Linked DNA regions of Homo sapiens: region 2 is linked to region 1. The links are contacts of gene promoters, found by promoter capture Hi-C in blood cells and fetal thymus (Javierre and others, 2016). All regions are on one chromosome and are shown on one strand. The core of a region is centred on a gene start or on the middle of the fragment in contact, and the rest is flanking DNA. Distances in the headings are between cores, read along the strand shown. Region 1 holds the start of LINC02090 (long intergenic non-protein coding RNA 2090). Region 2 holds the start of PLD6 (phospholipase D family member 6).

What was found. Contacts are between HindIII fragments. The CHiCAGO score rates a contact against its expected background, and 5 or more counts as called.
Region 2: a contact is called between the fragment with the promoter of PLD6 here and the fragment with the promoter of LINC02090 in region 1, in 10 of 17 cell types (total B cells, M2 macrophages, M0 macrophages and 7 more). The highest score is 11.2, in total B cells.

The regions. Positions count from the first base shown.
Region 1 is chr17:16,985,704-16,990,718 of GRCh38, reverse strand. It overlaps LINC02090 (long intergenic non-protein coding RNA 2090), which reads right to left and starts at 2,390. Exons shown (of 3, transcript NR_146886.1): 1 at 2,196-2,390; 2 at 1,669-1,804; 3 at 543-610. RefSeq lists enhancers at 2,048-2,267, 2,900-3,730. The HindIII fragment of the contact is 6,040 bases long and covers 1-3,368 here.
Region 2 is chr17:17,204,223-17,209,503 of GRCh38, reverse strand. It overlaps PLD6 (phospholipase D family member 6), which reads left to right and starts at 3,171. Exons shown (of 2, transcript NM_178836.4): 1 at 3,171-3,644. The coding sequence starts at 3,218. RefSeq lists silencers at 2,863-2,912, 2,953-3,202, 3,323-3,372, 3,393-3,512 and enhancers at 2,138-2,977, 4,033-4,152. The HindIII fragment of the contact is 11,264 bases long and covers 1,839-5,281 here.

The sequences.
Region 1 (5,015 bases), core at 1,141-3,640:
TCTGAGCAGAGGGAACAGCAGCTGCAAAGGCCGCAAGCAGGCCCTGCCTGATGTGTTTGGGGAACCTAGGCTGGGGTGGAGAGAGCCAGGGGGGAGGACAGAGAGGCAGTAGAGGCAGGGCAGGCAGGGCCTCCAGGCCAACAAAGGCTGGTGAGCTTTATTCTGAGCAATCCCTGTGCATTCCAACAGAGTTAACCCATAAACACTTCCCAGAGACTCCTGGAGCTTAGAGGAAGGACAGATGGCTTCAGGCTTGGGGCAGAGTGGAGGAGAGCAGCCAAGACAGGATGTAGTGTGATTGGGCTGGGAGGCAGGAGATGACATTGAGAGAGTGCCTCTGAGCAGGGAGGTTCCCTGAAGACCTTTCTGCAGCTGGGCACCCGCCCCTGGGCACCTGTCCCTGGATACCCTTCCCTGACATGTTGACCATGTTGACCAAAGTGAGATTGGGCTTCGCCCTCCTGGCAGCTCCATCACCATGGCCAGTTTTGGCTCAGTGCCTGTGATGGAACTTTCTGGGATGGTTGGAGGCGGTCTGCATCCATGCTGTCCAGAAGGCAGCCACAAAGCACAAGTGCACTGCTGAGCACCTGAAATGTACCTGATGGGGCTGAGAAGCAAGATTTTAAGTTTAAATCTCCACAAGACACTAGCAGCCACTTGTAGCATGCGAGCTGCATGAACGGATTCTGCCGCATGGCTCCTCCTTGGCTTTAGCCAGGTAGCACTCAGGTCAGCGCTACCCATCAGGGCCTTGCCTCATTGACTTCTGCCATGCCCAAAACCAGCTGTTTGGTCTGGGCCACACAGAGGCCCCACGGCTGACTCACCACACCCCTCATCCTGAGTGAGCGGTCAGCAGATCTTTCCTTTCCACTGAGAACGTGAGTTTCAGCGTGCACAGGAGTCTTGGTCTTGGCTGCCCAGTTAGTCACGTGGCCGCCCTAAACATCTGCTCCTCCTGTGCCAGGAGTGGAAGGAGCAGCTCAAAACCAAGCCCCATGCCACAGCAGGTGGGCCCACCTGAGATTAGCACCTCCCTTTCCACCAGGAGCCAAGAATACCCAGGTTGCTCATTTGAACCCATATGGTGAAGTTTCTCTCTCTCTCTTACTCTCTCGCTCTCGCTCTTGCTCTCTCTCTCTCTGTAATTTATTCTGTAATTTCGGTTTTCAAAAACAAAACCCTTCCATAGTACAAAGTTCTCAGACTGGGTGCTGTCTCCAGTGAGTTCCTTGTAAAACAAATACGTGTTGCTTGTGGTTGTACAAGTTGCACAGCTACGCCAGGAGGAAGTAGACAGCTGTGAACGAGCTGGGGCCACACCTGCTTTGTGGTGGGGCTGTCCCTTGCATCCTAGGATGGTTGGGAACATCCCTGGCCTCTACCCCCAGATGCCAGTAGCAATCCCTCCCACCCCCATCATTGAGACACCCCAGATGTCCCCAGCATGGCCACATGTCTCCTGACAGTGAAGGCAGAAGCACTTTGGTTGAGAACCGCTGGTGCAGAGCAGAAATGGCCTGATGAGAAGAGGGATGAGAGGCTGAGGTGCCTGCAGTCTCCCCTCTGTGTGTCTCCAATCCACTTTTGTGTTTTACATATGTAGGGAGGCATTATGAACAATGTCTAGTGCTATGTTGGGGTCCGTGTTTAAAATGTACTTACGTGCAGCTGTGCTCTGCCCTGCCTGTCCGCGCTCGTTGCTGTGTGGCTTGTGTCTTTGACCTGTTCTGTGATGCTCCATTACAAGAGCACATTGCATCACATTCATCCCTTTCCCGGTTACTATATCAGGCAGGACCTGGGCAGGAAACAGTGGTGCGGTCAACATGAAAAAGAGCTGAATGGACAGACTTTAGCAAAGCGTAGGCAGGGCTGACAAAAACAGTGCCACGTTGTCTTCCTGGGGTTCATGGTTTCAGATGCTGCTGCAGGGACTGTCTCTGCTCATGGCTCCTAGTGTCCATGTGCAGAAGCATCTCCAAAGGCCCTTGCAAGGGGACTCACTGGGGCCAGGTTATCCACAAACACCGTGATACTCAAAATCTAGTTTTACCCTAAGGAGGTAGGGGATGACTCTTTGGATCTAGAAGTGAAGGCACCTCCTAAGGGAATTTATCCTGAGTCACCTCCTCCTGGCAACTCACCCAAGGACTCCCCATGGGGCTTCCTCACACAGAGATATCCCCTACCATAGGAAAAAGACTCCTGGGTCCGGCCTCAGCTCCCTCTCGTTGGCTGTGCCTGTGTTTCTCACTCATCTGGCCAACCCACAGAAGTGGGTGGAGCCGGGTCTGTGCTGGGCTCTGGGGAGCATCTGACGAGTCACTGCAGAAGCAGCACTTTCTGCAGGAAGAACAGAAGTGTCTGCCTGTCTCTCACTTCCTTTTTGGGGCCTGGGAGGGTTGGCCTGTGAGTGGCCAGCTGCTATTTATGGGGCTCGACTGCTCTGTGTGAAACCCCAGTCTCTCTCGAGAGGGAAGAGTAGTGGGAAAGGGTGGTGCCAGGTGACATTGCCCCTGGTCTGGGGTACAATCAGCCCAGGTGCAGCGGTCACAACGTCAGAGTAGGGGGTGTAGCTCAGGGGTAGAGCATTTGACTGCACAACGTCAGAGTGAAACCCATCTAGGTCAGGATGGACGTGATGGGTTTCCTAACAAATCAACTCTGTGTTCCTTGTATTTGTAGACGCTCAGTGTATAGAGTGGGCTTTTAGTTGGGTGACCACATTCCAACCCCCCTGATTTGGACAGAAGGGGAAACTGAGGCCCACAGAGGCTAAGTGCCTAGTCTGAGGTCACATGCTGAGCTTGGGACATCAAGAGGACTAGAGTCCATAGTCTGGACTCTCATTCTAGTGCTCTGCCTTTTCATGGGGGTGGCAGGGTCACCCGTTTGGCGCAAAATTAAGCTGAGTTTCAAAGGCCACTGAGCATCTTCCCCAGCCCCAGCCATTCTCAGGGTCCTGGGAGGAGGACAACTGTCTCCTGTATTGTCTTGAACCCCTGGTGGATGGGCGGGGCAGGGGGTAGGAAGGGGCAGAGAAGGGGCTGTCCAGATGTGACACATCTGGAGTCTCCACATCTGCCCCAGGGGTGATGAACAGAGCTGCCCTCTCCCGCCTGTTCATGGTGGCCTTCGGTCATCTTTAGTTTTGTACCACCCGGGTTGCTTTTGGGTGTGCCTTGTGACCTGTTCTCGCTGGAATGAAATGGCCTGTGCATTCCTCCCTTCCTCCTCCTCCCTCTCCACCTCCCTCCCTCCCTCCTCCCCCATACGTGTACTGAGCCCATACTCTGTGCCCCTTGCCTTTGAGATGAATGGCCGGGGCTGTCCTAACTGAGGAGGCAAGATTTGGGCAAGCTTCCTGGGAGGCAAGCAGTCACCCAAGCACACATCTGGGCAGAGAGCATTCCAGGCAGCGGAACAGCACAGAGGGGAAGTTGTCAGCATTGGCCTGGTGTGAGCAGGGGAGAGTGGCAGAGGGCTCAGGGAGAGAAGGCCCAGGTTCAAGGCCCAGGGCCATTATAAAGATCCAGTGTTTAGTCAGAGCAGCTGGGGAGTGGCAGAGGTTCCTGGGCAGTGGAGGGCTCAGCTGTGGCTCAGGTGCTAACAGAGTACATGGCACCTGGGGGTGGGGGGGCCTCTGAGAAGGGGCTGGTAGGGGGTGGCTTGAAGCAGGCCTGAAGGTGGTAAGTGCTCAGATGATTTTGGTCATATTTTGAACGTAAAGCCAACAGTGTTTGCTAATGGATTGGTGGAAGGGAAGGAGACAGGGAGAGAAAGAGAAGTCAAGGATGACTCCGGGTACTTAGGGCCTGTCTTAGTTTTAGACCCAACCTCACAATTCTGGTGGGCATTGCCCTAATGGGGGCTATCCCTCTGTGGCATTCTTTGAATTCAAGGGGAGGCAGCCATACCCCCAAAGCTCTTGCACTCTGTGTGCCTGCAGAATTAGCAACACATGCATGCTGCCAAGGCTCACAGCTTGCACCCTTTGGAGCAGCAGCCCAAGCCACACCTGGGCCCATTTGAGCCACAGCTGGGGTGGCCAAGGAGCATCGTGCCAAAACACAAGGAGTAGAGACCCAAGGCAGCCAGCCCCTGGCCCATCCCCCCAAATCATTCTGCCCTCAAGCTCCAAGGGCCCTGGGCTTATGATGAGATGAGTCATCCAGATCTCTCAAATCCCTTCAGAGTCTTTCTCCCACTGTCTTGATGAACAGCACCTGGCTTCTTTCTAGCCATACTCATCTCCTTATCACATGGGCTCTTGGCCATACCCTTGGTATTTTCTCCTTAACACACCTTTTTATTCTTTATGCGGCCAGGCTGAGAATTTTCCAAATCTTTGTGTTCTGCTTCGCTTGTGGTTATACATTCCGTCTTTAAATCATTTGTCCTCTCGCATTTTACTATGAGCAGCTAAGAGAGGATGTACAGCATCCTGCACACTTTGCTGCTTAGAGGTTTTTTCTGCCACATATCTAGTTCATTAATTTTTCAATTTTTTTTTTGTTTTTTTGATACAGGGTCTCACTCTGTCACCCAGGCTGGAGTGCAGTGGCACGATCATAGCTCACTATAGCCTTGAACCCTTGTGTTCAAGTGATCCTCCTGCCTCAGCCTCCTGAGTAGCTGGGTCTACAGACATATGCCACCATGCCTGCTAATTTTTTAAAAATTTTGTAGAGACAGGGTCTTCTTATGTTGCCCAGGTTGGCCTTGAACTCCTAGCCTCAAATGATCCTCCTGTCATGGCCTCCCAAAGTGCTAGGATTACAGGCATGAGCCACTGTGCCTAGTCATAGTTCATCACTCTTAAGTTCTGCCTTCCATGAAGTCCTAGCACATGGACATAATTCAGCCCAGTTCTTTTCCACTCTGGAACAAGTATCACTTTCCCTCCTGTTTTTAATACCCTGTTCCTCATTTCCATCTGAGACCTCATCAGAATGGCCTGTACTGTCCATATTTCTACCAGCATTCTCTTCATGAACACTCAAGTAATC
Region 2 (5,281 bases), core at 1,922-4,421, 220 kb before region 1:
GGCGTGAACCTGGGAGGCAGAGCTTGCAAAGTGAGCTGAGATCGCACCACTGCACTCCAGCCTGGGCAACAGAGCAAGACTCCGTCTCAAATAAATAAATAAATAAATAAACTAATAACTAAATGTTGTAACACAAAAGAGGATAAATGCTTAAGGTGATGGATATCCTGTTTACCCTGATGTGATTATTACAAATTGCATGTCTGTACCAAAATATCTCATGTACCCGATAAATATATATACCTACTATATACCGACAAAGTTAAAAATAGAAACTGGAAGACAAAAAATAAATAAAAATCAAATAAAGCTTCTCATTTTGTTGTCTGCCTTTGGTAGATTTCCAGCCCTGAAGTGGCTGTTTTTGAAAACTGTTTTCCCCCAGTTTTATTTTTGTTTATCCCTCTCTGGAGGGATTTGAGTCCTTCTTTATACCTCCACAACTCCAAGTCCCTCCTCTCATTATCGTTTTAGATGAGGAAAGTGAAGCTCAGAAGAGATGAATCAATTTGCCCTAGACCATGCAGCTAGGAAGCCTGGGAGCCAGCACTAAACTCAAGTGTTCTTTTTCTTTGTTAAGAATTTTATTCGCCAGGCACGGTGGCTCACACCTGTAATTCCAGCACTTTGGGAGGCCGAGGCAGGCTGATCACGAGGTCAGGCGATCGAGACCATCCTAGCTAACACGATGAAACCCCGTCTCTACTAAAAATACAAAAACAAAAATTTAGCCGATGTGGTGGTGTGCATTTGTAGTCCCAGCTACTTGGGAGGCTGAGGCAGGAGAATTGCTTGAACCCAGGAGGTGAAGGTTGCAGTGAGCCGAGATCGTGCCACTGCACTCCAGACTGGGCGACAGAGCGAGACTTCATCTCAAAAAAAAAAAAAAGAAGGCCGGGTGCGGTGGCTCACGCCTGTAATCCCAGCACTTTGGGAGGCCGAGGCAGGTGGATCACGAGGTCAGGAGTTCGAGACCAGCACGGCCAAGATGGTGAAACCCCATCTCTACTAAAAATACAAAAATTAGCCGGGTGTGGTGGTGGGCGCCTGTAATCCCAGCTGCTCGGGAGGCTGACGCAGAGACTCACTTGAACCCCGGAGGCAGAGGTTGCAGTGAGCCGAGATCGCACCACTGCACACCAGCCTGGGCGAAAGAACGAGGCTCCGTCTTAAAAAAAAAAAAAAGAATTTTATTGACATAATCACTGACATACATTTTTAGTTATTTACACCATACAATTTGACATATGTATATACCTGTGAAACCACCACAGTCAACCCGATAAGCACACATCCATCACTCCACTTCCTTGTGGCTTTGTTGGCCTCCAGGCTACACTGGTCTGCTTTCCCTCAATCTAGTTTGCATTTTCTAGAATTTTATGTAAATGGAATCATACAGTATGTACTCTTTTTGTCTGGCTTTTCCCACTCAATATTAATGAAATTCATCCACGTCGTAGCACATGTGAGTACTGTTTTTTTTTTTTTTTGGTGGGGGGGGGATAGGGTCTTGCTGTGTCACCCAGGCTGGAGTGCAATGGCATGATCTTGGCTCACTGCAACCTTAGTCTCCAGAGCTCAAGCGATTCTCCCACCTCAGCCTCCCGAGTAGCTGGGATCACAGGCACGTCAGCGCACTCAGCTAATTTTTGTATTTTTTGGTAGAGACAGTGTTTCACCATGTTGGCCAAGCTGGTTTCGAATTCCCGAACTCAAGCTGTCCTCCTGCCTCAGCCTCCCAAAGTTCTGGGATAACAGGCATGAACCACCGTGCCAGGCCACTTCATTCTATTTTATTGCTAAATAGCATTCCCTTGTACAGATATACAAAAGCTTATTTACCTGTTTACCTGCTGACGCCTTTTTGGGTTGTTCTAGGCACATACGCCTGCCAGGACACGTGCTTGTGTTAATGGATCCCGCCCTTTCTCCTAGGAGTGGGATAGCTGGATCATATGGAAGGTGCAAGTTTAATATTTTAATAAACTTTTAATTTAGAATAATTTGCTTTACAGAAAAGTTTCGAATATAGAACAGAGAGATCCATTTACCCCCACGCAGCTTCCTTTGTTAACCTTTTACATTCCTTTCATACATTTGTCAAAGCTAAGAAACTGACATTGGTACAATGCGATTAAGCTCCAGACTTTATTTGGCTCTCACCAGTTTTTCCGTGAATGTCTTCTTTCGGTTCCAGGATCCAGCCCAGACCACCACATTGCCCCGTTTCCCTATGCCCCCGGCCCAGTGCCCTCGGCTGCCTTAGTCTCTTCCTCTGTTTATGCTTAAAGCAGGGCAGGCCTTCCAACAACGCCGGCTGGAAAAAACCTCTTGGGCTAGGAAAAAACCTCTGGGCCGACACCGCCTCCAGTATGCTGGGTTCCAATGCTGCCTCCAGCTGTGTTGATTCCCTGATTATCTGTGTTCCCAGGTCATTCCCCAGCCCAGCCTAGCTGCTCCCGAGAAGACAGTGAAGGTGTGACCCCACATTTCCAGAGCAGCTCTGCTGTGCTCCATGCGAGGAAAGCCGGGGTTGCTGTGGCTTCTAGCGCGGAGAGCGGTCTCTGGCCTGGGCAGGTGACGGGTGTGCTAGGGCCCGTGGCCCGCGGGTGTGCAGGTGCTGCCTGGTGGCGCGGGCTTGGGGACGTGGCTTGGCACGTGGTGGGAGGTGGAACCTGGAGGGCGTGGCCGAGCGCCTGGCTGGAAGGAAAATGGGGGGCACAGCCTGGCGTTGGGGGGTGGAGGGTGTCTGTGGCAGGGGGCGTGGCCTGGCGCGTGGAGGGAGGCGTGGTCACCTGTTGAGGGTTGGGGGCGGGCTGATGGGAGGCGTGGGTTCAGCTTGGTGCGTGACAGTTGTGGGGGCATGGCGCGGCCTAGCGCGTGGCCCTCGGGGGCTGAGGGCGTGACCTTGCACGTGGCCGTTGGTGGGGCGTGACGGGGGCGTGGCCTGGCGTGTGGCCATGGGTGCTGGGCGTGGCCTGGCACGTGGCCTGGCACGTGGCCGTTGGCGCTGCGTGACGGGGGCGTGGCCTGGTGCGTGGCAATTGGCAGGACGTGATAGGGCGTGGCCTGGCGCGTGGCCATGGGGGGCTGGGCGTGGCCTGGCACATGGCCGCTGGCGGCGCGTGACGGGGGCGTGGCCTGGCGGTCTAGGGCTGGGGGCGCGCAGACTCCGCTGCGGCGGCGTGGCTGTGGGTCCCGGATTAGCGGCGGCATGGGACGGTTGAGTTGGCAGGTGGCGGCCGCGGCGGCTGTGGGCCTGGCTCTGACTCTGGAGGCGCTGCCTTGGGTGCTGCGCTGGCTGCGGTCCAGGCGGCGGCGGCCGCGGCGCGAGGCGCTGTTCTTCCCGTCTCAGGTGACCTGTACCGAGGCCCTGCTGCGGGCTCCGGGCGCGGAGCTGGCCGAGCTCCCCGAGGGCTGCCCGTGCGGCCTGCCCCACGGCGAGAGCGCGCTAAGCCGCCTGCTGCGTGCCCTGCTGGCCGCCCGCGCCAGCCTGGATCTCTGCCTGTTCGCCTTCTCCAGCCCGCAGCTGGGCCGCGCCGTGCAGTTGCTGCACCAGCGTGGGGTGCGAGTGCGGGTCGTCACCGACTGCGACTACATGGCCCTCAACGGCTCGCAAATCGGTCTGCTGCGCAAGGCAGGTAGGCCCGGCGGGGTCCAAGCGGAGAAGGCCGGCTTGGCCCACGCGGGGTCCTAGGCGCAAAGGTGGACACTTAGGGGAGGGGGTCTGGGGACGGGCTGAGGCCTCATTTACTTTCCTCGTGGCCTTGTGGGGTCGGGGTGGTGTAACGCGGAGAAAGCAGAGCCCCCACAGAAGGTCTAGCCGGCTGCGTGGGCATAAGCGAGCCGGACCCTCGGTGCCTCCGCGGTGGGGGCGGTTCTCTCAGTGAACTGTCCCGGCATGCTGGAAGCAGGTGGGCCTGCGTGTGCCGGGTTAGAGGCGGAGCAGATTCCCCTAGCAACTCCTCGGGCGCCGCCGGCGGAGTTTTCGTGACTGCTGCAGCCCGGGCCCGCCCTCCTACGCTGCCGGAGATCCCCGGACGGCCTCTGGTAACCTGGATCCTGGTGGCAGGGGAGCTGGACGCCAGGGTTGTGCTTGGACTTCCAGACTGAAGGGCTCTGGGGAGAGGCGGCCACCTGCTGCCCAGTGAATCTCAGGCCACTGGGCTCTGGGAGACCTGAACATGTTCTAGAAAGCAGCGCCAGGACATTCGGTTGTTTTCCCAGCTGCAAAAGGAGGGGAACACATATTTCTGGCGGGGGCGCCTCTCTCATGGGGTGGGGACAGAAGGGACCAGGAAATGTGAATAATTGGGATCCTTGTCCCACCTGAGGATTCTCAGTCCATCCTGGCCCAGTTCGGCGGCCCAGCCTGCTGTTGCCTTTTGTGTATCTGCACTCACAGACTCTTGGGCCTGTCTCTGTCTCCATCACTCAGGCACCCAGAAAGTCACGCCTGCACGTGCAACGGTTGGATCTGATAATACTGGTGGTCGCAGTGACCGAGAGATGTGTGGAGCCCTGGGAATTGTCCAGGCTGGGCAGTGGTCACCGCCGCGCTGTTCCTTCTGCACAGCCATAGCCTCTTGTTGACTTGGGCCTCAGAGCAGCCTCTCCAGAGTCAGCCAGGGTCCCTCCCTGCTCTGGGTGGTGTGGGGCATGTTGCACGCCATGTGGGAGCAGAGTGGGGCACGTGGTTTTCATATTGAGGATGTCTCCTTCTCTTTGGGGCAGCCACAAGAGCTGTCCTCCCATGTGTTGGTCATTTTAACGGGAGGTTTGGGGACCTCCAGGCATGCACAGTACAGTTCTGTTTGAGTTGCTTTTACAGTCGTAGAAGCTGAGGTTGGTGAAGACCCTTCAAGGGCCCCTAGACCAAGGTCCCATCGGATCCCCTCTGGGATGGCCTCCCAGCATCCTCGCTGACTTCGAGGCTGTCCAGTGGCATTCACTGTTCAAGGAATGTCCCCTCTGTGCCAGTATTTGTGAGGAGCTGGAACATCCTAGGGCACAAGGGCACAAGGCCAGGTTGCCACGGAGATGCCAACTAAGTCATGAATATTTCATTTAGGGCACTGAGAAGGGCCAAGAAAACTTCATAAAGCAGGGTAAGGAGGCAGTGGTGTGGGAGGAAGTGGCGTGGGCCAGGTCAGCTGCCCAGGGGCAGTGACACTCAGGGCAGGGACCTTGCTGACACCAGTGGACTGTTCGGAGGGAGAGGCATGCGGCTGGAAGGGGCAGCAGCACAGTCGCCCTGGGTCACAGACTGACTTCCTTT